4 separate regions of the Homo sapiens genome follow, and regions 1, 2 and 4 are each linked to region 3. The links are contacts of gene promoters, found by promoter capture Hi-C in blood cells and fetal thymus (Javierre and others, 2016). All regions are on one chromosome and are shown on one strand. Each heading gives the region's core, a stretch centred on a gene start or on the middle of the fragment in contact. The rest is flanking DNA. Distances are from core to core; before and after follow the strand shown. Region 1 holds the start of ZSWIM1 (zinc finger SWIM-type containing 1). Region 2 has its middle 4.8 kb from the start of MMP9. Region 3 holds the start of SLC35H1 (solute carrier family 35 member H1). Region 4 holds the start of PCIF1 (phosphorylated CTD interacting factor 1).

Evidence for each region. Contacts are between HindIII fragments. The CHiCAGO score rates a contact against its expected background, and 5 or more counts as called.
Region 1: a contact is called between a fragment that was not itself captured here and the fragment with the promoter of SLC35H1 in region 3, in 2 of 17 cell types (fetal thymus and total B cells). The highest score is 7.0, in fetal thymus.
Region 2: a contact is called between a fragment that was not itself captured here and the fragment with the promoter of SLC35H1 in region 3, in 1 of 17 cell types (non-activated CD4 T cells). The highest score is 5.2, in non-activated CD4 T cells.
Region 4: the fragment with the promoter of PCIF1 here is called in contact with the fragment with the promoter of SLC35H1 in region 3 in 4 of 17 cell types (total CD8 T cells, non-activated CD4 T cells, fetal thymus and 1 more); the score reaches 8.3 in total CD8 T cells.

The regions. Positions count from the first base shown.
Region 1 is chr20:45,879,692-45,885,800 of GRCh38, reverse strand. ZSWIM1 (zinc finger SWIM-type containing 1) reads right to left here and starts at 4,574. Exons shown (of 2, transcript NM_080603.5): 1 at 4,540-4,574; 2 at 535-3,268. The coding sequence starts at 3,208. The coding sequence ends at 1,751. RefSeq lists enhancers at 4,485-4,564, 4,815-4,864. The HindIII fragment of the contact is 4,284 bases long and covers 1-3,433 here.
Region 2 is chr20:46,001,143-46,007,124 of GRCh38, reverse strand. No RefSeq gene overlaps it. Among named protein-coding and RNA genes, the nearest start is that of MMP9, 4.8 kb to the left of the region's middle. RefSeq lists enhancers at 1,810-2,461, 2,462-3,113. The HindIII fragment of the contact is 6,341 bases long and covers 401-5,982 here.
Region 3 is chr20:46,363,175-46,368,764 of GRCh38, reverse strand. It overlaps SLC35H1 (solute carrier family 35 member H1), which reads left to right and starts at 4,340. Exons shown (of 10, transcript NM_015945.12): 1 at 4,340-4,394. It overlaps LOC124904917 (a long non-coding RNA gene), which reads right to left and starts at 4,226. Exons shown (of 3, transcript XR_007067614.1): 1 at 4,045-4,226. ELMO2 (engulfment and cell motility 2) reads left to right here. Exons shown (of 22, transcript NM_133171.5): 22 at 1,205-2,715. The coding sequence ends at 1,405. RefSeq lists an enhancer at 1-175 and a silencer at 4,200-4,619. The HindIII fragment of the contact is 17,737 bases long and covers 1-5,521 here.
Region 4 is chr20:45,929,819-45,935,932 of GRCh38, reverse strand. PCIF1 (phosphorylated CTD interacting factor 1) reads right to left here and starts at 1,250. Exons shown (of 17, transcript NM_022104.4): 1 at 1,129-1,250. It overlaps LOC107985388 (pre-mRNA-splicing factor cwc22-like), which reads left to right and starts at 862. Exons shown (of 1, transcript NR_171669.1): 1 at 862-2,439. RefSeq lists a silencer at 720-929 and enhancers at 558-1,248, 1,249-1,940, 2,200-2,349, 2,632-3,324. The HindIII fragment of the contact is 3,152 bases long and covers 1-2,130 here.

The DNA of each region.
Region 1 (6,109 bases), core at 42-2,541, 480 kb after region 3:
TACAGGTGCCTGCCACTACGCCCGGCTAATTTTTGTATTTTTAGTAGAGACACGGTTTCACCATGTTGGTCAGGCTGGTCTCAAACTCCCGACCTCAGGTGATCCGCCTGCCTCGGCCTCCCAAAGTGCTGGGATTACAGGTGTGAGCCACCATGCCTGGCCAGAATTTCTTATATTAAGTCCTAGGTATTTGAATTCTCCTCTTGCCTTAAATTTCCCAGCATGTTGAAGGCAGGTCATAGGACCATAGGCAAGGAAGGAAAATTAATACTTAATTGAGCACCCACTAGGTATGCCTGCTCTGTGAACATACCCTGTGGAGATCCCCATTTTTACAGATAATCAGGTTGAGGTTTAGAGGGGTAACTTATCCTAATAAGTCTCATAGCTAGTAAAAGGCAGAACCAGGCACAAAAATCAAGCAGGGAAGGAACCAACCAGGATTCACATGTTGTATAACACTCTAAAGTCTATTCTCTCCATGATATACCCTAAACTGCCTTCTATGGAACAAAAAAAAAACTAGACAAGTGCTAGAATATGCAACATTCAGTTTTATTGACCCCAGGATGGGACAAGGAAAAAAGTTCAGGGAGCCTGGCTGAGTCAGCTCCCCAGAGGGGCCTCTTCCCCTGTAGGAAGCCTCCCAGCCCAGCTCACTTAAAGGAGACGGGTTAAGTGAGTCATCTCATGACTGGGGCAACTGCTACCAAGCCCCAAACCTCAACCTCACCACCTGATGTTTTATCTCTTATCTTAGACCAGGGGTTGCCATTTATTTTATTTTTTTTAGATGGAGTCTCACCCTCCCAGGCTGGAGTGCAGTGGCAGCAGGATCTTGGCCTACTGCAACCTCTGCCTCCCAGGTTCAAGCGATTCTCCTGCCTCAGCCTCCCGAGTAGCTGGGATTACAGGGCCCCCGCCACCACACCTGGCTAATTTGTGTATTTTTAGTAGAGACAGGGTTTCACTATGTTGGCCAGGCTGGTCTTGAACTCCTGACCTCAAGTCATCTGTCCACCTCAGCCTCCCAAAATGCTGGGATTACAGGCGTGAGCCACCATGCCCAGCTGGATTGCCTGCTTTTTTAAAGACCTTTGAGCTAAGAAAGGTTTTTACCTTATGAAAATGTTAAAACAGGCCGGGTGCGATGGCTCACGCCTGTAATCCCAGCACTTTGGGAGGCCGAGGCGGGCAGATCACGAAGTCAGGAGATCGAGACCATCCTGGCTAACACGGTGAAACCCCGTCTCTACTAAAAATACAAAAAATTAGCCCGGCATTGTGGCGGGCGCCTGTAGTCCCAGATACTCGGGAGGCTGAGGCAGGAGAATGGTGTGAACCCAGGAGGTGGAGCTTGCAGTGAGCAGAGATTGCGCCACTGCACTCCAGCCTGGGTGACGGAGACAGACTCCTTCTCAAAAAAAAAAAAAAAAAAAAAAAGAAAAAAAATATTAAAACAAAACCAAGAATATACAACAGAGACTGTATGTGGCCACCTGAGTAAACTAAACAGATTAAGATTTGCTGACTCCTGTCTCATTGAGCTAGACACATGCTAGGTAGCAGGCCATGGTAGATGAGAAGACCCTTCAACCTTGTCCTTGTTGTCCTTGTTCTGGAAGGAGGGCCCACGGAAGTACAACAGTGTAAGGGAGTGTGTGTGTGTGTGTGTGTGTGTGTGTGTGTGTGTGTATGGGTGGATGTGAGTGTGCACAGGTGCATGAGCATCTCTGGGCATCGAGAATAATCAGAGTTGGACCTGCTCATAAGGCCCAATCCAGCTGTCGGCCAGTTCCCGCAGGGTGCTATACCTCCGCTCAAACTCCTCCTTGGTGCAGTGCTGCAACAGCTGACCCACCTCCTCGGTGAGGTGAGTCACTGCCAGGTGCTTATCCAGGGTCTCACTCCACTTGCTGCCCAGGATGCTGTCTAGACTGGTAGCACAGCCTGCCGTCCACTGAGCCGGCAGCATGTCGGGCTGGAGCACCTGGCGGCGGGCACTGAGCATGGCTAGGATGTGGCGGCAGGGCAGGTGGAAGGCCTGGTTAAAGTAGCAGCTGCAGCTGGCAGGGGGCTGGGGCTGCACCTTATGGGTATCTTCCAGGATCTGTATGTTCATCTTTTCTGAGCCAGAGCCAATGAGGTGTGTGGATTTCTGGACCACAGCAAGCTCGCCCAGGCACAGTTGGGCTGCTGGCCCTGTGCAGATGGCATTGAGGGAGTGCTGGATGTGGGATTCTACCAGCTGCTCCAGTTTGGGGCTTTCGGGGATGGTGTCTGAGGGAGCATGATTGTTCTGGGCACACAGGCCCTGGTTGAAGTTTGCCTTGTCTGCAGAGTTCTGCTGCATGTAACGGAACAGAGAAGCCATACCTTGTTTCTCAGATGGGGTGGTACCAAAGAACTGGCTGAGGATGTGGGTGGTGACCTCGAGGCTCTGGAAGTAGTGGCTGCTCTCAGCTCGGCTTCTCCAGCGGTGAGCCAGCCAGATGCGGTCGTTGAGCAGCCAGTGTGAGTGAAGCTCGGGCAGCTTGGCTGGAGGGATGCAGTTGCTCAGGAGTGTATACAACTTTCTCAGGTTGCCTGCTGTGGCTGAGCACATTGTGCTCTGCAGGGAGGTCAGGAGCAGCCTTTCCACGGGCCGTTCAAGGGACAGCTGATAGAACTTGGCCTGGAGGAACTTACAAATGTGGAAGGCTGAGAGAAGGACCTCAGCTGTGGGGAACTCCATAGCTAGGATAGGCAGTGGAAGGAAATGAGGATCCACCAGGATGGTACAGACTCTCTCCCATGCTGGATTAAACTTCTTGAATACTTGGAACATCTGGGCCAGGCCTTCAGTGTCCTCCTTGGCAGGGATGGCAAAGTAGACTGCTCGGGCAAGATGACCCTCCAGCTGCACCCGAGGTCCATCCACCAGGAAGGTATATAAGACCTTACCCCTTGGGTTATAGGTCCGGTGGATAAATAAGATCTCAGGGAAATGGTCAAAGACACTTTGCATAAAGCAGCTCTGGTAGTTGAAGGTATCTAACTGGGCAGTCTTGTTAACCTGGTGCAGCAGCATAGGTGGGCTTGAGTCCTTAATCAGGAGCCCATTCAGCATTGTCAGGGCCATGGGAGAGATGGGAGCTGTCCAAATGCCAAGGTCAAAATACTTTCTTTGCAGGGCAGCTGACCACGGGGCTTTGAGTCTCTCAAGCATCAAGTAAGTTGAGGCTGGAGGCTAGACAATCATTCCCAGATCTTTTTTCCAAAGATGGGCCTATGGAGAGTAACAGAGGTTTAAGGAGACAGCAGGGACCTGGCTCTTCAATTATTCATCCACACAATATTTGTTGAACACTTACTATATGTCAGCACTGTTCTAGGGGAAGATACACAATAAACATGTAAACAAATAAGCAAATATATATCCAATAATGAAGCTTACAAAGACCATAAACCTGAGTAACATGTCAGAGAGTAAGCTGGGGAAGGGAGGGATACTTTAGTTAAAGTGGTAATGGAAGGCCTCTCAGGGGAGAAGGATGACATTGGAGCTGAAATCTAAATGATAAGAAGTTAGCTATGGAAAGATATGGTTCCAGGGGATTTAAATAGGTATGGCCAGAGCTGCATATGGCCTTTTAAAAAAATAGCATTCTAGCCAGGTGCAGTGGCTCACACCTGTAATCCCAGTACTTTGGGAGGCCAAGGTGGGCAGATAACTTGAGGTTGGGAGTTCGAGACCAGCCTGGCCAACATGGTGAAAACCCGTCTCTACTAAAAATACAAAAAGAATTAGCCGGGTATGGTGGCCCATGCCTGTAGTCTCAGCTACTCGGGAGGCTGAGGCAGGAGACCTGCTTGAACCCAGGAGGCTGAGGTTGCAGTGAGCCGAGATTGCGCCACTGCACTCCAGCTCTGGGTGACAGAGTGAAACTCTGTCTCAAAAAATAAAATAAAATAAAAATACGATTTTATATTTATAAATGACTGATTGGCATCCATTCTTTCCTTTGGTCCTGGTATGTATAAGAGAACTGCAATTGCTCCAAACTTGCTGTGTTATCTTGGGCAAGTCAATGACCCTCTCTGAGCCTCAATCCCTTCCACCATAAAATATGGCTAACAAATGTGCATAGCTTCTCCTGCCTCTACTATATCCCTCTTTTAGCAGCAATACTCTATTCCATTGTTTCCTCTATTTGGCCCCAGACCGAGTTACTGTCCTCATTTTACAGATGATAAACTAAGGCTCAAAGAAGCTAAGTGACTTGCCCACCATTACTCTGTAAGTAGCTGAAAGTTGAGTCTTTGGTTCGGGATCCTGACTGCTGTCCACAGTACCTGGGGTCCAAAAACCAACAGAGGGAATACGGCCTTTGACCTCTCACCTCTAACCTGGGTGGGAGATGTGGATGTCTGACATTCCCAGAGTCCAGCTGGAGCCGGATGAGAAGAAAACCTCCCTCCCATCCCTTTGGGAGCTGTGTGACGGCTAACTGCGGTGATCCGCTGTCTCACACTTTCACCCCTTCAGGAAGCACTCACCCACAGCCAGGCTCCGTCGCCATTTCTCCCTATTTGACCCTGCCTCCGACTCTGACTGACATCCAAACTCACCAACCACAGCGTCAGCATCGCAGTGACTCGGACCAATGTCTGAGGAATTCGCTTTCAGGCTTTAGCACCACGGACCAATCGTAGCGTGACGATTCGCGGGCGGGCCGTGTTGCCAGGGTTACAAGGAGCTGGCTGGAGGTAAAGATACTTGCATCTGGGAGAGCTGAGCCTTGAAGCTGGAGCTCCGGGGCTTCCCTTCAGGCTAGGCGACTGGAAGGACACGTTACTATGGAAACTCCCTCAAAAGCAGAAAATGAAAAGGAAAATAAATAGCAGTTATATATATATTTTTTCTTTTTCTTTTTTTGAGATGGAGTCTCGCACTGTCGCCTGGGATGGAGTGCAGTGGCAAGATCTCGACTCACAGCAACCTCCGCCTCCCAGGTTCAAGCGATGATTCTCCTGCCTCAGCCTCCTGAGTAGCTGGGATTACAGGCACCCGCCACCACGCCCAGTTAATTTTTTGTATTTTTAGTAGAGACGGGGTTTCACCCTGTTGGCCAGGCTGGTCTCGAACTCCTGGCCTCGTGATTCGCCCACCTCAGCCTCCCAAAGTGCTGGGATTACAGGCGTGAGCCACCGCGGGTTTTGTTTTGTTGTGTGTGTGTGTGTGAAACTCTAAAGCCCCTGGAATTTAGGAAACAGTGCATATATAGTCATAACGCATATTCTACCTTATGGGGAAACTGAGTTCCAGGTCTCAAATTCTACTCCTCCTTCGGGGATCAGGAGCCCAACTTTTAGAGCTGAGGAAATCCAGATCCCCTTAAACAAGCCAAAACTTGGCATTCTCTAGCCCAACCCCCTCCAGTATTCTACAGAATGATGCCATGACTTATTTAGGGTCCTACTACAGTAGTGCAAGGGCCTACTAACTGGTCTCTTGTCCTCAGTTCCCTTGAAGATGGCAGACTTAGAAAACTGGGTGTTTACCAGGCCTTGGAGGATTAAGATTACCAACTAGCAACATCAAATCAGTGTTGGTACTTACGCATCGAAAATGTTATTGGGCTGGGTGCAGTAGGTCATCCCTTTAATCCCAGCACTTTGAGAGGCTGAGGCAGGTGGATTGCCTGAGATCGGGAGTTCAAGACCAGCCCGACCAACATGGTGAAACCCCATCTCTAAATACAAAAAATTAGGCAGGCGTGGTGGCACATGCTTATAATCCCAGCTACTCAAGAGGCTGAGGCAGAATCGCTTGAACCCAGTAGGCAGAGGTTGCAGTGAGCCGAGATTCTGCCATTGCACTCTAGCCTGGGCAACAAGCAACAAGAGCGAAACTCCATCTCAAAACAAAAAACAAAAAGGTGCTTATGTAAACCTAGAGGGGAAATCTGGGATTAGAACAGGCCAACATGCTAATTTTTACAGAGGAAACTGAGGTCAAAGAAATTGCCCACAGTTCCCCAGCAAGTTGCTGGCAGTCAAGTCTAAGATTCAGGTTTTTCCCCCACACCCTCCAGTCTATTTGGCCTCTTCCCGCTAGAATATAAGG
Region 2 (5,982 bases), core at 2,322-4,821, 360 kb after region 3:
AAATGAGACTGTGAGATGGAGATAATTAACTTCCTTTACAGAAAAGTTGAAGTTCTAAAGTTCACTAACCAATGAACATCTGCTTTGCAGTCACGAAGTCCTGGATTTCCATCCCGGCTCTGCCATTTTCCAGCTATGTGACCTTGGGCAAGTCACTTTACCTCTGAACCATAATAATAATAATGCATTTTTTGAGATTTACTGTGTCAAGCACCGTAATAAGTTCTCTATAAGCCTCTCGTTTCATCCTCACCACCTGTAAGGTAAGTTTAATGAGTATCCCTCCTGTTTTCAGAGGGGGAAACTAAGGCTCAGAGAGTTAAGGAATTTGCCTGTGATCACAGAGCGAGTTAATCCACAGAACTAGTGTTCAAGCCCAGAACTGCCTGGCTCTGAAGCTTTTCATCTTTATTACCATTTACAGGGAACTGTGATGACCCAGGTATAGAAGTGGGTAGGTGGATGCGGTGACAGGGGCAGCACATAAAACCTGGATGCTTCTCCTCTGGTCCCCTGCTACCCACTGAAGGTAAGAGAGGAGGCCCAGGCATTTAGGGAATCAGAGGCTAGGACAGGGGACCCAGGAGGAACTAGATTCTAGACTCGGGAATGTGAGGTCATAGAGTAATATGAGTTTAGAGGAACAGATCTTCCAATCTGGAGGATCTTCATCTGGGTGGCAGACACGGGCTTTTAGGAAAATCCGTTAACTACCCCCCACTTGCCATCAATGGTACCAAACATGACATACAATACATATCTATGTATGTATGTCACATAGCTCAAACTTAGCACTATTGGCACTTGGGGCTGTCGTGTGCATTGTAGGATGTTTAGCAGCGTCCCTGACCCCTACCCACTGGATGCCAGTAGCACCTCCCCCTGCCAGTTGTGACAACCAGAAATGTTACCAAACATTGCCAAATGTACCCTGGGTGAGTGGGAGGGGCAGACTCACCCCCAGCTACTGGTATATGTTGATTTTTCTATGTAAAGGGTCTAAAACTTTTATCAGATACTCAAACCATTGTTGATGATCTTCAGACCTTTTAAAGACCATTTACTCAACACATTCTAGTTGAGTTTTTCTAGGCCAATCATTATGCTAAGAATTGGGAATACAAGTAGTGACCAAGATAGCCTTTGTCTCATTGTTCATGGATCTGAGAGTTCAGCATGGGGAGAAATTGAATGAATAATTAATTACCAGAGAATCAGGCATCAAGAAAGGAAAGTGGATTTATGTATTCCAATTACCCTCATCATGCAATGAGGAAACTGAGGCTCAGAGTGGTCACAGAGCAAGAGCCTGCACTCTGGAGCCAGGCTGCCTAAGTTCAAATCTCAGCTCTGCCACTGACTTGCTGTGTGACAAGGGCAACTGACACAACATTTCAGTGCCTCAGTTTCCCCATCTGTAAAATTGGAGTAATAATAGTGCTTCCTTCATGGGGTGGTTGTAAGGCTCAAAGTGTTAGCAAATATAAAGTGCCTGGCACATGATAATAAGTGTTCACTGCTATGCTAATTAGGACCACCTTCAGGACAGCCGCTGTTTTTTACCAAATGGGAGCAGGGAGAGAGCAGCCAGGAAACCCAGATCTTGATTCCTGGAGTCAATCCAAATAAGAATCCTCCTTTTTTTAACATCCCCCCCAACTCCCATCAACTTCCTCCTTTACCTCCTGGCTCCCCAACCCCCATCAAGGGGAACTTGGACAGAGCTTGGCTTTCAACACTGCAGTGGCAGGAAGTGGTTCTGGTTACCACATCCCCTTCCCCACTTCCCCCAGCCTCTCTTTTTAATACCACAATAGAGTTTAGCCAAGACCCTGGGAGTGCAGGCAGAGAACAGCATATACCCTCACGTAGAGTCATAGCTTAGACTCTAAGCCCCTCACTGAGGTAGCTCCATCAGGATGGGGAGGGTGCTGACCCTGGAGTCCTGAATCACTAGCTGGATGACACAGCCCTGCAGGCCATTATTAATAACAGGCCCCCAGATCAGGGTCAGCCTCACGAGATGAGGAATCTGTCCCGCTATCTAGGATGGGGGAACTCCAAGCCTCTTTCTCCCAAACCTGCCAGAGAGGGGAGGGGCAGCCAGGCCAGAGAGGCTCTGGCAGGATGTGGAGGAGACACTGAAATCTGAGATGAAGTAGAAAGGTGTGTATCCTGCAAGACATTGCCTCAGGGGAGAGCATCACTCAAGTACCCCACCCCCAACCCACAAACACACCTGCCATCCCTAGCTTCAGGGGAATGGCAATTCCCACACTGACTCTTAGAGTCCCTATTAACACCAAGTCACACCTCCCACTTATCTGTACTGAGCACCGTCAGTAAGGAAGCCATAGGGCATAAATTTTGGAATCAGACCTCCTGGGTTCATATTCTACTACCTATCATTTATGGGCTGTGGGACTTTAGGCAAATCACTTTACCTCTCTGTGCCTCCCTTTTCTCATTTGTAAAGTGGGGAAAGAAGCAGACCTCATTTGGAGGTGTTGTAGTGGGGATTAAATGTGATTATACATGGCAAATTCTCAGCACAGTGCCTGGCTCTTAGCAGGTACACACACACACACACACACAGTTTAGCTATTATGATTCTATTACTCTAATGCTCTCATCTCAACTTTGCAAATTAACGTTCATACCCATGGCTCAGAGAAGTGCTTTAAGTTGCTCACGGTCACACAGCTGGTGAGTGACCAGCTGCCTAGGCCTTCTGACTCCCAATCCCGTGCTAAGATCAGGTCACTGGCTCTCGCAAAAAGGAAGTCCATGGGGGCAGCAGTCTAGGGGCAGGGAGGGGTGATTGCCCAGAAGCCAGGCTGGAGGAGTTATGTTTAGGAACCAACAGAGGGAACAGATGTGAGTTATTTGGCTGAAATCTGTAGGAAAGAAAAGTTGGAGATAAAAAAGGAAAATAAGAGTGAGGTAGCTGGTAGGGCAGAGAACAGTCAAGTGGAGGTTTTTTTGTTTTTTGGGGTTTTTTTTTTGAGTCAGGGTCTCACTCTGTCACCCAGGCTGGAGTGCAATGATGTGATCTAGGCTCACTGCAGCCTCCGCCTCTGGGTTCAAGCCATCCTTCGACCTCAGCCTTCTGAGTATCTGGGACTACAGGTGTGCTCCATCAAGCTCAGCTAATTTTTGTTTTTTTGTAGAGACAGGGTTTCGCCACGTTGCCCAGGCTAGTCTTAAACTCCTGGCCTCAAGCAGTCCACCCGCCTCGGCCTCCCGAAGTGCTGAGATTACATGCGTAAGCCACCGTGCCCAGCCTCAAGTGGAGTTTTATTTAAGGTGAGAAGTTCTTGTCTACAAGAAGGGATGGTGCTGTGCAGGGAGAGATGTGAAAATGGAGGTGAAAGAGAATGGGCCTGGGACCGGTTCCTTTGACACTGGGTTGCCCACTGGCAGGTAAGAATATGCTTGGGGTCCCAGCAAAGCAGGCGCAGTCCCAAAATACACATTTAAAATATTGATTTTGACCGGGTGCGGTGGCTCACACCTGTAATCCCAGCACTTTAGGAGGCAGAGGCAGTTGGATCACCTATGATCGGGAGTTGAAGACCAGCCTGGCCAACATGGTGAAACCCCGTCTCTACTAAAAACACAAAAATAAGCTGGGCATGGTGGTGCATGCCTGTAATCCCAGCTACTCAGGAGACTGAGGCAGGAGAATCACTTGAACCCAGGAGGCAGAGGTTGCGGTGAGCTGAGATCGCGCTACTGCACTCCAACCTGGGCGACAGAGCGAGACTCCGGAGACTGTGTCTCAAAATAAATAAATAAAATAAAATATTGTTTTTGATATTTGGAAAAAATCCTCAAAGTAGCCAGCTTGGGAAAAAAAAATCAGTTCTCTATTGTTCTTTTTATGAAGTCATTTCAGGGTTTAGTGTTGTTTTACTTTGGACAACAGATGGGAGGGGCACCGTATTTTCAGTAATCACAGCCACTAAAGGTGTAAATCTGGTCCTGCTCACAATGGGGAAGAGGTGGGAAGAGGACTTAATCTTTGAGAAATCCAAGGTTAAGCATTCAGCGGGGGCTCAGTCCCTGCTGGACAAATGGATGGAGAGAGCCCTGGGGAATGGCTCAGGAGGGAGAAGTCCATGTGGCGCACAGGGAAACCGGCACATATTTTGACCCTTTTCCAAGCCTGGGTTGAGCCTCTACTCTCGGCCCAGCCCACTTTCTCATACATCTTCCAGTTCAATGGTTCTCAAACTGTAGTCCCAGGACCAGAAGCCCCTGCAGCACCTGAGAACTTAGAAACACAAATCCTCCCCGCCCCAGAATGATTGAATCAGCAACTCCGGGGTGGGGCCCAGAAATCTTTGACCTAACAAGCCAAAGTTTTTGTTTGTTTGTTTGTTTGTTTTTGACACAGAGTCTCACTCTGTCTCCCAGGCTGGAGTGCAGTGGCACGATCTCGACTCACTGCAACCTCCACCTCCCGGGTTCAAGCGATTCTTCTGCCTCAGCCTCTTGAGTAGCTGGGACTACAGGGGCCCGCCACCATGCCCGGCTAATTTTTGTATTTTTTAGTAGAGACGGGGTTTCACCATATTGGCCAGGCTGGTCTTGAACTCCTGACCTCGTGATCTGCCCGCCTCAGCCTCCCAAAGTGTTGGGATTACAGGCGTGAGCCACCACACCTGGCCCTTTTTTTTTTTTTTTTTTTTTTGAGACAGAGTCTTGTTCTGTCACCCGGGCTGGAGGGCAGTGGCATGATCTCAGCTCACTGCAACCTCCACCTCCCAGGTTCAAGCAATTCTCCTGCTTCAGCCTTTTGAGCAACTGGGACTACAGGTGCTTGTGGCCATGTCTGGCTAATTTTTGTATTTTCAGTAGAGACAGGGTCTCACTATGTTGGCCAGTCTGGTCTCGAACTCCTGACCTCAGGTGATACACTGGCCTTGGCCTCCCAAAGTGCTGGAATTACAAGCATGAGCTACTGTGCCCAGCCCAGCCAAGTGATTCTGATGCATGCTCAGTTTGCCACCTCTGCTGTAGTGCAGCTTCATCCCTACGCTGATAGGGAGGGCATTTGACCCCATTTCCAGATGAGGAAACTGACCTTCAGAGAGATGAAGCCACTTGTCCAAAAGCCACACAACTCATACCAAAATCAAGTGGGAATCTAGGCCTTTCTGACTATATAAAGTGGGTGCTTCTCACTACAACATTATAGCGGGGGGTGATGTTCAAGTATTTAACAACCAGGTCCTCAGGAGCCCTAACTAATCAGAACTGATTATGTCCAGGGTCTGGGGAGATGGGGAGGGTGATGCTTTGAACTTAGAAAGTTCAAAGCAGCCCCAGTTACAAGTGGATGGGGAAATATGTCAGTATTTTATTTTTGAGACAGGGTCTTGCTCTGTTGCCCAAGCTGGAGTGCAGTGGCACAATCACGGCTCACTGCAACCTGTGCCTCCCAGGCTCAGGCGATCCTCCCAAGTAGTTGGGACCACAGGCACGCTCCACCACGCCTGGCTAGTTTTTGCAATTTTTATAGAGATGGGTTTACCATGTTGCCCAGGCTGGTCTCAAAATCTTGAGCTCAAGGGATCCATCTGCCTCGGCTTCCCAAAGTACTGGGATTACAGGCATGAGCCACCGCACCCAGCCATATTTCAGTATTTTTACAACCAATGCTGCTATACCAGTGCATACTGGCTGCACACCAATCCTCCAGTCCCCTTCCTAGAAGGAGGGTCTCCTGAAGCTGGCACCGGGTGGTGGGCCTGCAGCTAACAATAGCCCCAAAGCAAGCACAGGTATAACAAGTGTCTCGTGGGAATCCTGTTCAGCAATGCTTCTCAAATTTGATTGCACATTGGAATCACTCAGGATTTTCTCTTGAATACTGATGCCTGACTTTCACCTCCCCTCCTGTAGATTCTGACTTAATTGGTCTAGGGTACAGCCTGAGCGTTGGGAAATTTTTTAAGCCTCGGTGATTCTAATATG
Region 3 (5,590 bases), core at 3,091-5,590:
GGCTTTGAGAAGAAGGTGGCATTTCAATAGGATGGGAATGTCTCAAAGGAGGAGCTGTGGTTGGGGGGGCACCCAGATGAAGCAGCAGGTATCATTACATAATGCTGGACCTGAGGTTCCTCCAGGCGCATTGGGTGGCTGCCAAGGATCTGTCACACTCTGGATTGTTTATCTGTGAGCTGGGCTCTCCACATTACTCTTCAGCAGCAGCCATAGGTTGTCATTACAAAGATAAGGTCAACTAGGAATGAGTCATTTACCTGGGACTGGGAAAATTCTCCCCTTTTCAGTTTCTCTGTGGTCAGCTACCCAAGAGAACTTGACAGATCCTTCCTCCTAGGGGCTCCTGGTCACATGTTGTAATGGATCCAGTGTGGACTTTGAAGCCAGATGGAACTGGTCCTTCTGACAAGGGCCCTGTAGTTCCATCTGCAGCACTGGAAGATACTAGATATTAAATGAGTGATTGCATTTGAGACCCTATGTGCCTGGTGAGCTCTGAGAGCCATCACTGGGAACTAGAGGTGGGACTTCTGGCAGAGGAGACACTTGGGCAGGGCCTGAGCTGCCGCTAGTGGAATTTGGTTGAGAGGAAATGAAGAACAAGCAAGTGGGGAACCAGGTGAGCAACGGTGTGGAAAAAGGAAAATGGCAGCAGAGGAAGCAGGAAGAGTCAGGGAGCGGTGGGATCAGAAGGCTTCCTGGTCACCCCCTCTTAGCATGAGACCCACCAGTTCCATTTCTTTAGTATTTACTCTTTAATATGTATTGACTGGATTATTTTTAATTTTGTTTTCGGGGGGGCGGGGCACAAAATTGAGATCCCACAGTGACTTCTGTTTGTGTCTTGCTTCTTTTCACCTAATACATATTTCCCTTCTCTCGCTTCTGATTTTGGGTAACTTCAGGTAGATGATGCCCCAGTACTCAGATCTCATTTTGCTGTATTCGTTTATTGCATTTTTAGGTTCTCCTTCATATTATTGTAAGGAGTTGTAATATAAAACCCCTTATAAAAACCAGATCTCTTGAGAAAGTGAAGGATCACCTCCTAATTTATCTTTGCTATCATTCCAAATCAGTTTTGCCTATACTGATTAGTTCCAAAAGGAACTGTTGTGAGCCCCATCAGAAAAGAGACCTTGGCAGGATCTCCTGCTGACCAGGGGTCACGATGTGACATTTTGCAACTTGCTCCCCACAGTACTGCATCTGGATTGATGGCCTCAGTGCCCTTCTGGGGAAGGACATGTCCAGTGAGCTGACCAAGAGTGACCTGGACACCCTGCTGAGCATGGAGATGAAGCTGCGGCTCCTGGACCTGGAGAACATCCAGATTCCCGAAGCCCCACCCCCCATCCCCAAGGAGCCCAGCAGCTATGACTTTGTCTATCACTATGGCTGAGCCTGGAGCCAGAAACGACGGTACCCAGGAGAAGGGATTTTGGGCCCAGGAGAAACACTTACATTCTGGTGCCTTGTCTTTTGCTTGTACAGAATCTGTAGTGATTTTGGTGGCCAGTAAATGCCAGCCATTTCTCAAACCCACCTCGGACCACCCAGAGTTTCCTCTTGGTCCCTGTCTACTAAGAGTCATGAAGGCAGGGTGCTCTGCCCACTCCATCACCATGAAGCCTGGGATTGGGCCACGAGGAACAAACAGCAGATGCCCTTGCCTTCCAGTCCAAGAAACTGCTTCTTGAAATGGATTTAACAACAGCCACTCACCTTTTCCTCCTGAGCCTGCTCTCTGATCAGCTGGATCCCCACGTGAGCAACAGCTGGCCCAGGAAAGGCTGCCTGCAGAGGACAGGTGTGTTGGGCGTGTTGAGAGCCTTGAAGTGACTACCTGTATCTTAGATCTGAGTACAAGCCTGAGGCTTTTGCTTTTGTCTTTTTTGATGAGGGCTCACTCCAGCTTCATATGGTGCCAAGACGTTGCTGCTTCTGAGGTTGGCTCTAACATCTCTGGTCTTTAGAGCCACCAGATCTCTCTGGCCCATACAGATATCAGAGCAGACGGAAATTTCTCCCTGCAAGCGCTCAGTCTCATCCCAGCAAGTCAAAGACCTCCTGGCCAAGTCCTGCCCTCTTAAGTCTCCAGGAACGCTGCAGGGAAAACCCAGCTGAGGCCTGGGCCTAGACTGTGGTGAGGTCACTAGATTCTACTGCTCTTCCCCCACATTAATACCTTTTCCTTCCTCAGAGAGAAATCTCCCCTAACCTGAATTGCAGCCCCCTCCAGTTTGCTTTCCTTTGGCCTTCCAGACCCCAGGAAGTTGGCCTTCCCTTCCTAGTGCTATGGTTTCTGCCATTGGCCATGATTTCAGGGAGCTGGCTGAGGCCGGCTGAGGCCACACCTGTGCCAGTGGGGCTTCCCTGGTGCTGCAGCACTTGTAAACCACACACACAGCCTCTCTCCCTGGACATACGTTAGCACATTGGCATTCAGTATTGGTGGCCTGGCATGGTAGGTACTACCCAATGAAGAGTGTACTATATATTTTCATTACTATAGGCCATACTTATACAGACGTGTATATATATTTATATAAGATCTACCTATCTTAGGATGGAACCTTGGGGAAAAATAAAATTGAGGGGAAGTAAAAAGTATGTAACACTTCCAGTTGTGAGCCAAGATTGTAACCAGAGAGCAGCCAGGAGCTTCCTGTCAGTAACCATGTTTTCAATAAATACTCTTTCATGTACAAACTGTGGTTCCTGTTAACAGCTGTTTGTCTGTACTTGCCCCCTGCCCAATGGTGAAGATTTCACCTTGACAAGACTTGATCTCCATGTATCTGGGAGACTCTGGAGAGCTCCAGCTGGAGCCCTTAGTCACCTTCCAAGAGTCCCTTCCTCCTCATCATTCGCTCCTCCCACACATACACACACACAGACACACACCTGCTGGTTAAGAGTGTTCACAGATTGCTGCACTGGGACGAAGCGTTTTCTGCTCAACCCTGCTGGGTACAGCAAGGTAAGGCATACTGTACACCCCCATGAACACATCCTCCCTCTTCTCCCTGCCAGGGACACAGCCAGGGAACAGCTCGAGTACTTGTGCCTTACAAAGAAGACACGCTCTTTACCCTGTGTGTTGCCTGTGCATAGTGCCCAGCCTTCCAGCTGGTGTTTTAGGCTGTTGCTCCAAACCTTGGCCTTGGTAGCTGGGAGACTTAAATGAGGGTGGTGATGAAAATAGATCTCTTGCCTCTGAGAGAGAAGGGTGTGAGGACAGGCTCTTTCAAAAGGCATAGAAAGTGCATGCAATACAAGCCTGAGGACTGAATAAAGCCAAGACCTTGGGCAGTGATGGGTACCATTGTAGGTGCTTGGTAAGCACTGAATGAACTAATGCCTGCATGATGCCAGCTGGCGGCGGTGACAGCCGCAGTTTGCATAAAACACTGCTTACACTCTGGCCTTGAGCCTTCTGTTCAGAGGGGCCAGGGATCCCAGCTGAGTCACTTGTAAGGATCCATGTTTGCAGCTGGTCTTACTGCCAGAGAGCCCAGGAGGAGGCTAGAGGAGGGCGAAAGGCACAAAACTGGGTCTGAATGTGCAACCCTAGCTTGCCCTGGCCTAATGTTCTTGACTGCAAATGCTGCCCTTTTAATCCATCCCGCAAGATGAAGAAAATCTGAACTCCCTAGGCTGGCATTTTGGGGCCACTGCAACCTGCCTCTTGGCTACTTTAACCACCACAGTTACAAACAACCTGTGAGCCCCAGGCACGGCTGGAGCTTTCTCACCCTCCTTTAGGATTCTCCCATTTCCTCTATCTGGGATGCTCTCTCCCTACTCAACCTATTGAAGTTGAGATAATTCTTAGAAAGTTTCATACAGAAAATATTTCACAAATGTTTCGTATTACTTCTGGATCGCCCAAGTTTTAAGTTGTAATGGCCCCAGCTGGCCTGAGCTCCCAGAAGAAAAAGCCCATGAGATACTTATCTTCGTGGTTCATTCCATGGTTGCCCAGCATTAGACTGGACATAAGAAAAACAATTTGTTCAGTAAAAGTAAACAAGTTACCATTTTTTGGATGCTCACTGTATGCAGAACACTAGCAGGCACCGGGGTTCCAAAGCAAGCCCCTGATTGAGCGCGGGAGAGACGCAGACAATTACACGGCTGTGCTCTGAGCCTGAGGGACTTCGCGGAGGACAAAACTACGCTGTACCTCAGAAAGACCAGACCACCTCAGAACCCGACCACAACAGACGCCCCGCCCCCGTGCTGCCCCGCCCCGCCTTTTCGCCCCGGCTCCGCCCAGCCCCTGGGTAGCTTCCGGCGGAAGTTACCGCCCGTGCCGCGGTTCGGCGGCGGCATCCGGCCTCGCACTTCCGGTGGGGAGATTCCGGCCTGGAGCTCCCAGGGCCGAGGTGAGTGGGTGTGCGGCCGGCCTCCCGGCGCACTCCCAGAGGCTGGGGGGCCGGGGCTGGAGAAGGGAAGCGGGCTCCCCACCCGGGATCTGCGCGGGTTGACATGGGGCACGCCACGCCCCTGCCCCTCCCCGGGCCTCAGTTTCGCCGTCTGTGGAGGGGGCAGGGGTCTCCAAGCGCCCTCCTGCAAGGCACCTGCCGGACGCCGGCTCATCTGGTATTTCCTGAGCACCTGCGACGTCCTGGGTGCGGGACCCGGGCCGGAATCGGACACGGCCCTGCCCTCTGAGGGGCTGCTTCCCGCGGTGGGATTGGGGCGGGCAGTAAACACGTGAGCAAACAAGGAAACGTCAGAGGTGGGAGTGCCACGAGGATTGGGAGGGGTGGGGCATTGGAGAAAGTATTCAGCCAAGCGGAGGTCTGCGGAAGGGAGCTGAAGGCAGGAAGAGCAGCAAGTAAAGAAAAACACAGGTTTGATGTGTTTGACACGTGGCAGGGGGCCGCTGTGGCGGGTGCTGGGACCAGTGGCAGAAGAATGAGGTTACAGAGGCCTTCCTTGTGGACCAGGCTGAGGAGCTGGGCTTAGCCTTAGGGCATGATCTGTTTCGTGTGCCATCTCTCTGGCTGCTTTATAGATTCCAGGCCTTAGGGGCGAAAGAGGAAACAGGGAGACCAGTTAGACCAGTGGCAGTCAGCAGGTGAAAGATAATTGTGGCTTAGACTGTGGTAGTGGGAATGGAGAGGAAGAGAAGTAGAGGGGTCAAGAAGTGTATTGAAAGTGGAACTGACAGGGCAGGATTTGAGAAATGACAGAAATAAGTGGTCAAAGATGACTTCATCATAGATTTTTGGTTTTGGCTTAAGTAACCAAGTGTATTATGCTGGCATTTACTAAATGACTTTGGGATAGATTGGGAGCGTGAGAAATAATTACGAAATCTTCTTAGGGCATCTTAAGTTTTAGATATTTGGAGTGCAGCTACCAAATAGGCAGTTAGATATATGAGTCTGATACAGAAAAGGTCAGGGCTGATGTAAAGAATTTAGAAATCATTGGCAAGTGGATTGGGTAGGATGAGATTATGTAGGGTAAGATTTAAGAGAGAAGAGAAGCCAGGTTCCAAGCTTTAGGCACCCAATTTTTATAGATTGAGTTGACAAGAAGGTGCCAGCAAAAAAGACCAATAAGGAGTCCA
Region 4 (6,114 bases), core at 1-2,500, 430 kb after region 3:
ATACGCACAAGCGGCACAGCTTAGTGTGAGGCTAAATGGGGACACTGCAGTATTTCCAAAGCCAGCTGTGCATCAGAATCATCTTGGAGTTTGTAAAAAAAAAAAAAAAATCAGACTCCTGTGCCTCACTGCGCATCTCAGAAGCCAGAAATAAATACGGAGGTGAGGCACACAAGAATTTGTATTTTTAAAACGCACCGTAAGAGTGACTGGGAGACAGGATGACTCATTTTTTCACACTATTTGAAAAAATGTACCCATTTTTTGCAATTAAAACCATTTTTAATTTCCTATGTGACTTGAGCGCAGCAGGTCTGTGGCCGAAGTACCAGCCCCTGGGTTGGACAGACCCGGATTCCGGGCCCTTCTGCTTTCCGGCTTATAAACCGGAATCACTCGACCGTTATATGTAGAGTCCAGCATTGTACGCTCCCAGTAAGACATAACTGCTCTTAAGTTAACGTCTTTATTTATCCTGTGGCTTCCCGACCCCCACGCATACCGCAGTTTGAGAATTACCGCTGCTCAAGGATAAACAACTCTATCTGCGCAACCAGAAAAACCCACCAGAAGCCAGAGTCCGAGTCCGGGATTGGAGGCACGTGGGGCGGGACCATCTCCGCAATGTACCAATCAGAATTCTCCGGCCCAGTAGGGAGGAGTCAAAGGGCGAACAAAGTACGCAGGCGCGACGGCGCACGAAGGCGAGAGGCGAGCTCCAGCGCGCGCGCGCGCGCGCACCTTCCCCTCCCCCTACCCCAGCGAGGGTGGGCTGTTTGGCGCGCGCGCGCGCGCCGGCCCATCTCTCGGGCTCCGCCCCCCGCCCCGCCGCGCGCTCCCGCCCCCGGGCTGAGGCGACTCAGAGTCGGAGCCCGACACAAAGGCGGTGGCGGCGGCAGCAGCGGAGGGGCCCTAGAGCCCGCTCCGCTGGGGCTCTCCGGGCCCACCTCCCTCACTTCGGCCACCGGCGCGGCCGCCCACCCGCGGGTCTAAGATGGCGGCGGCAACAGAGACAGGGCAAGCGGCAGTCCCGAGCAGAAAGCGCCGGAGGGGCCGCCGCCCCCCAGCTTCGGATCCCCAGACCCTGGCGCGGCTCGCTGCGGGACCATGGCTTCCTGGGACTCTTACCTGCCCGGAGCGGACTGGAGGGGACGCGGCTACACGTTCTGCTCGACCGCCCGTTTTGCCGCCTCCGCCTCGCCCTCCCCAGCGCCGCTGCCGCCATCTTGTGTCCCGGGCCGGGACTCCGCGCTGCGCATGCGCTGGTACCGCCTCTGAGGGACCTCGCCGCGGCCGCGCCGCCATCTTGAGTGTGGCAGGGTCGGCTGGCTCCTCGCACCCAGCTTGCTTTCGGCCCCCTCCCCTTCTTCCCATCCGTCCCTGCTGTTCCTTGTGGCGCTGAGGAAGGGGAGACAGCTTTGTAGGCCTGCGGGTGGACTGAGGAAGGAATGAATTCACTGGCACGTCCCCGCCTCAGTTTCCCCCTCGAGCACACACGCAGGAGCCGGATGTTCGCGGTGGGCGGTGCGCGGCGGGGTTGGACTGAGCGTGCGCACTGGGGGGCGTGGGGGCTGTCTTAGAACCTGCGGGGGTCTCGGGTTCTGCCGCCGGCCCAGGGGAGGCATCGTGGTGACGTAGGCTCCGGACGTAGCAAGGACCTGGGTCCTGGCACCCGCGCGGCTCTGCCTCTTCCAGCCAGTCTCTTTCCCTCTCTGGGCCTTTGTGCTGCGTGGTGTCCAAATGTTAAGAAGCCCTGCCCCATGCCCGGGCTACATATACATCGAACCCAAGCTGTAAATGCTCTTGAGTAGAAGCAACTTAAACTAGCCTTCGGGGGCAAGTAATAGAGATGGCTTTCGGCAGAGTTGGGAAATCAACTAAATGCATTGTAGGGCCTTTCCAACATTGACATCTGTGGCCATTAGTTGCAGTTCAAAGCCTCACTGAGCCCTCAAACCAGCTACAGCGGGTAGCCTGGCAGGGAACTGGCAGCTGTGAGGTGCTCCTCATCCGGCTCCCTGCAGGATTCTTTTTGGTAGGAGCCTGCAGGCGTCCGAGTGGTAGCTCCACCCATCTCCGGTCTCCCCAGCAAGCATCCCTTCCAGTGCTAGCTTGAGAAGAGGAAAAGCTTGCCACCTGCTGTCAGACCGGCGCTTGTGTGGAGCCAGGGGCTGTAGGTACCCCGGCTGAGTAGCCTCTCAGATGTCCATGGTCCTGGCTGCACGCCAGCGTGGGGGCAGGCAGGCGGACGCTCAAGAAAAACGGAGGCACCGATATGAGTAGTAATTGAGAACGAGGGTTCATGATCCTCATCTGATTTCAATCCCTGCTCCTCCACCCAAAATGTGTGGCCTTGAAGGAGTTAACCAATTTAAATTTTAGTTTCCTCAGTGGAAGATAATAAATCCGCCTACCTCATAAAGGTTTGGTGAGAATTAACTCAGGTGATGCATGTGAAGTCCTCAGCGCAATACCTGGCGCTTCCTAAGTGCTGAATCGGTTAGCCGTGATCATCTCACAGTGGCATGAGCATTGCTCCAAGTAGATTTGAGCCCTCCAGAAATAAGCCAGCTCTATATAGGCACAGCAGTTCTGCCCTCGCAGAGCTTCTCGTTCAGATAAGAGGCCTGATGGGAAACCAGACTCCTGGGTCCTGTCTCAGTTCTGGAAGGGTGGGGGGCCAGCTTTGATTTATGCCTGCTGCCCTGGCATAATTACTAATATTGCCTCCTTTTTCAGAAGTGCCCTGCTTTGGGCCGGGCGTGGTGGCTCACCCCGGTAATCCCAGCACTTTGGGAGGCCGACGCAGGTGGACCACCTGAGGTCAGGAATTCAAGACCAGCCTGGCCAACACGGCGAAACCCCGTCTCTACTAAAATTACAAACATGAGCCAGGCCTGGTGGCGCGCGCCTGTAATCCCAGCTACTCGGGAGGCTGAGGCAGGAGAATCACATGATCCCGGGAGGCAGAGGTTGCAGTGAGTCGAGATCGCGCCACTGCACTCCAGCCTGGGCGACAGAGTGAGACTCCTGTCTCAAAAAAAAGTACTGCTTTGGGCAGTAAACTACGTGGTCGCTCTTGACCTACGGGATAACCAGTTTTCCATGCTCATGCCCCCCAGCTAGCCCGCGCTTTCACTAAAGTTTAAAAACCATGTAGTGATTATTACCCTTTTTTTTTTTTGAGACGAAATCTCGCACTGTCGCCCGGGCTGGATTGCAGTGGCGCGATCTCGGCTCACTACAACCTCTGCCTCCCGGGTTCAAGCAATTCTCCTGCCTCAGCCTCCCAAGTAGCTGGGATTATAGGCACCCGCCACCACTCCCACCTAATTTTATTTGTATTTTTAGTAGAGACGGTGTTTCACGATGTTGGCCAGGCTGGTCTCAAACTCCTGACCTCATGATCCGCCCGCCTCGGCCCCCCAAAGTGCTGGGATTACAGGCGTGAGCCACCGCGCCCGGCCTTTTATCTATTCTTTTATGTTTTCAAAGTATTTTCTCATTCATTGTTCAGATTCTCTTAATTGATAACCAAGATACCAAACATCCCAAGTGCCTAGTCTTCTGTTTTATCATGGAATTCTGTGAATTATTACCTAAATCTGCACATGAGCAAACAGGTTGGAGCGAGGGGCAGGGGCGAAGTCATTGTCCAGGTTCACACAGCCATCAACAAGTAACAAAACTGGGATTTTAAGCCCGGAGTTCTCAACACCAAAATGCAGGGCTGGTTCCATTAAACCACTCTGGCCTCCCTGTTTTGTGAAGAAGGGATCTAGATTCAGGCGATGTGACTGGTCTGAGTGGACACAGTGGCCCTGGATAGTTCAATCTTTTTTTTTTTTTTTTTTTTTGAGACGGAGTTTCGCTCTTGTTGCCCAGGCTGGAGTGCAGTGGTGCAATATCGGCTCACTGCAACCTCCGCCTCTAGGGTTCAGGCGATTCTCCTGCCTCAGCCTCCTGAGTAGCTGGTGTTACAGGCATGCGCCACCACGCCCGGCTAATTTTGTATTTTTAGTAGAGACGGGGTTTCTCCCTGTTGGTCAGGCTGGTCTCGAACTTCCCACCTCAGGTGATCCGCCCACCTCGGCTTCCCAAAGTGCTGGGATTACAGACGTGAGCCACCGCCTCCGGCCTGGATAGTTAAGTATCTTAAAGGTTTCTCTATCTCACAGTGTTCAGCACTGCTTTTCACCTGATACATGCCTCATCTTCTCCGTTTGCTCACTTTCCGCATGTCAAAACCAGCCTCTTCTCAGCTGGGTGCGGTGGCTCACGCCTGTAATCCCAGCACTTTGGGAGGCCAAAGCGGGTGGATCACCTGAGGTCAGCAGTTTGAGACCAGCCTGGCCAACAGGGTGAAAGCCCATCTGTACTAAAAATACAAAAATTAGCTGGGCATGGTGGCAAGCGCCTGTAATTCCAGCTACTCAGGAGGCTGAGGCAGGAGAATCGCTTGAACCCGGGAGGAAGAGGTTGCAATGAGCCGAAATCACACCATTGCACTCTAGCCTAGGTGACAGGAGCAAAACTCCGTCTCAAACAAAACAAAACCCAACCTCTTCTCACCATTCTAATGACTACCTTAAGAGCTGGCGTTTCCCACCCCTACCCCCCTTTTTTTTAGAAGCAGAGTCTCAGTCTATCTCCCAGACTGATGTGCACTCATAGCTCATTGTAACCTTGAACTCCTTGCCTTAAGCAATCCTCCTGCTTCAGCCTTCCAAAGTGCTGGGATTACAGGCATGAGCCACCACACACAGCCCAATTTTGTTTTGTTTTTTGAAAAGGAGTCTTGCTCTGTCGCCCAGGCTAGCGTGCAGTGGCGCGATCTCGGTTCACTGCAACCTCTGCCTCCCAGGTTCAAGTGATTCTTCTGCCTCAGCCTCCCGAGTAGCTGAGATTACAGGTGCCCGCCACCATGCCCGACTAGTTTTTTTTTTTTTTTTTTTTTTTTTTTTTGTATTTTTAGTATAGACGGGATTTCACCACGTTGGCCAGGCTGGTCTCGAACTCCTGACCTCAGGTGATCCACCCACCTCAGCCTCCCAAAGACAAATTTTTAAAACCTTTTTATTGTTAAGAATAGCATATGGGGCTGGGTGTGGTGGCTCACACCTGTAATCCCAGCACTTTATCCCAGGAGGCCTAAGCGGGCAGATCATGAGGTCAGGAGATCGAGTCCATCCTGACCAACATGGTGAAACCCCATCTCTACTAAAATACAAAAAATTAGCCGGGCACGGTGGCACGCGCCTGTAGTTCCAGCTACTCCGGAGGCTGAGGCAGGGACACCACTTGAACCTGGGAGGCAGAAGCTGCAGTGAGCCAAGATCGCACCACTGCACTCTAGCCTGGTGACAGAGCAAGACTCCGTCTCAAAAAAAAAAAAAAAATAGTGTATGATAGACTGGCACAGTAGCTCATGCCTGTAATCACCAACACTTTGGGAGGCCAAAGTGGGAGGATACCTTGAGGTCAGGAGTTAAGAGACCAGCCTGGGCAATGTAGCAAGACCCTGTCTCTGAAAAATGTTTTAAATAAAATTAGCCGGGCATGGTGGCATGGGCCTGTAATTCCAGCCACTTGGGAGTCTGAGGTGGGAGGATCACTTGAGCCCTGGACGTCGAAGCTGCAGTTAGCTGCACTCCAGCCTGGGCGACAGAGACCGTGTCTTAAACATAGCTGGGCGCAGTGGCTCATGCCTGTAATTCTAGCACTTTGGGAGGTGGAGGTGGGTGGATTGCTTGAGTCCAGGAGTTTAAGACCAGCCTGGGCAACATGGTGAAACCTGCGTCTCTACAAAAAACACAAAAATTAGCCAGGTGCGGAAGCACACACCTGTAGTCCCAGCTACTTAGGGGGCTGAGGTGGGAGGATCACTTGAGCCCAGGCGGTCAAAACTGCAGAGAGCTATGATCATGCCACTGCACTCCAGCCTGGGCAACAGAGCAAGACCCTGTCTCAAAAAAATGTATACAAAATAGACTGGGCATGGTGGCTCACGCCCGTAATCCCAGTACTTTGGGAGGCCGAGGCGGGTAGATCACAAGGTCAGGAGTTTGAGACCAGCCTGGCCAACATAGTGAAACATCGTCTCTACTAAAAATA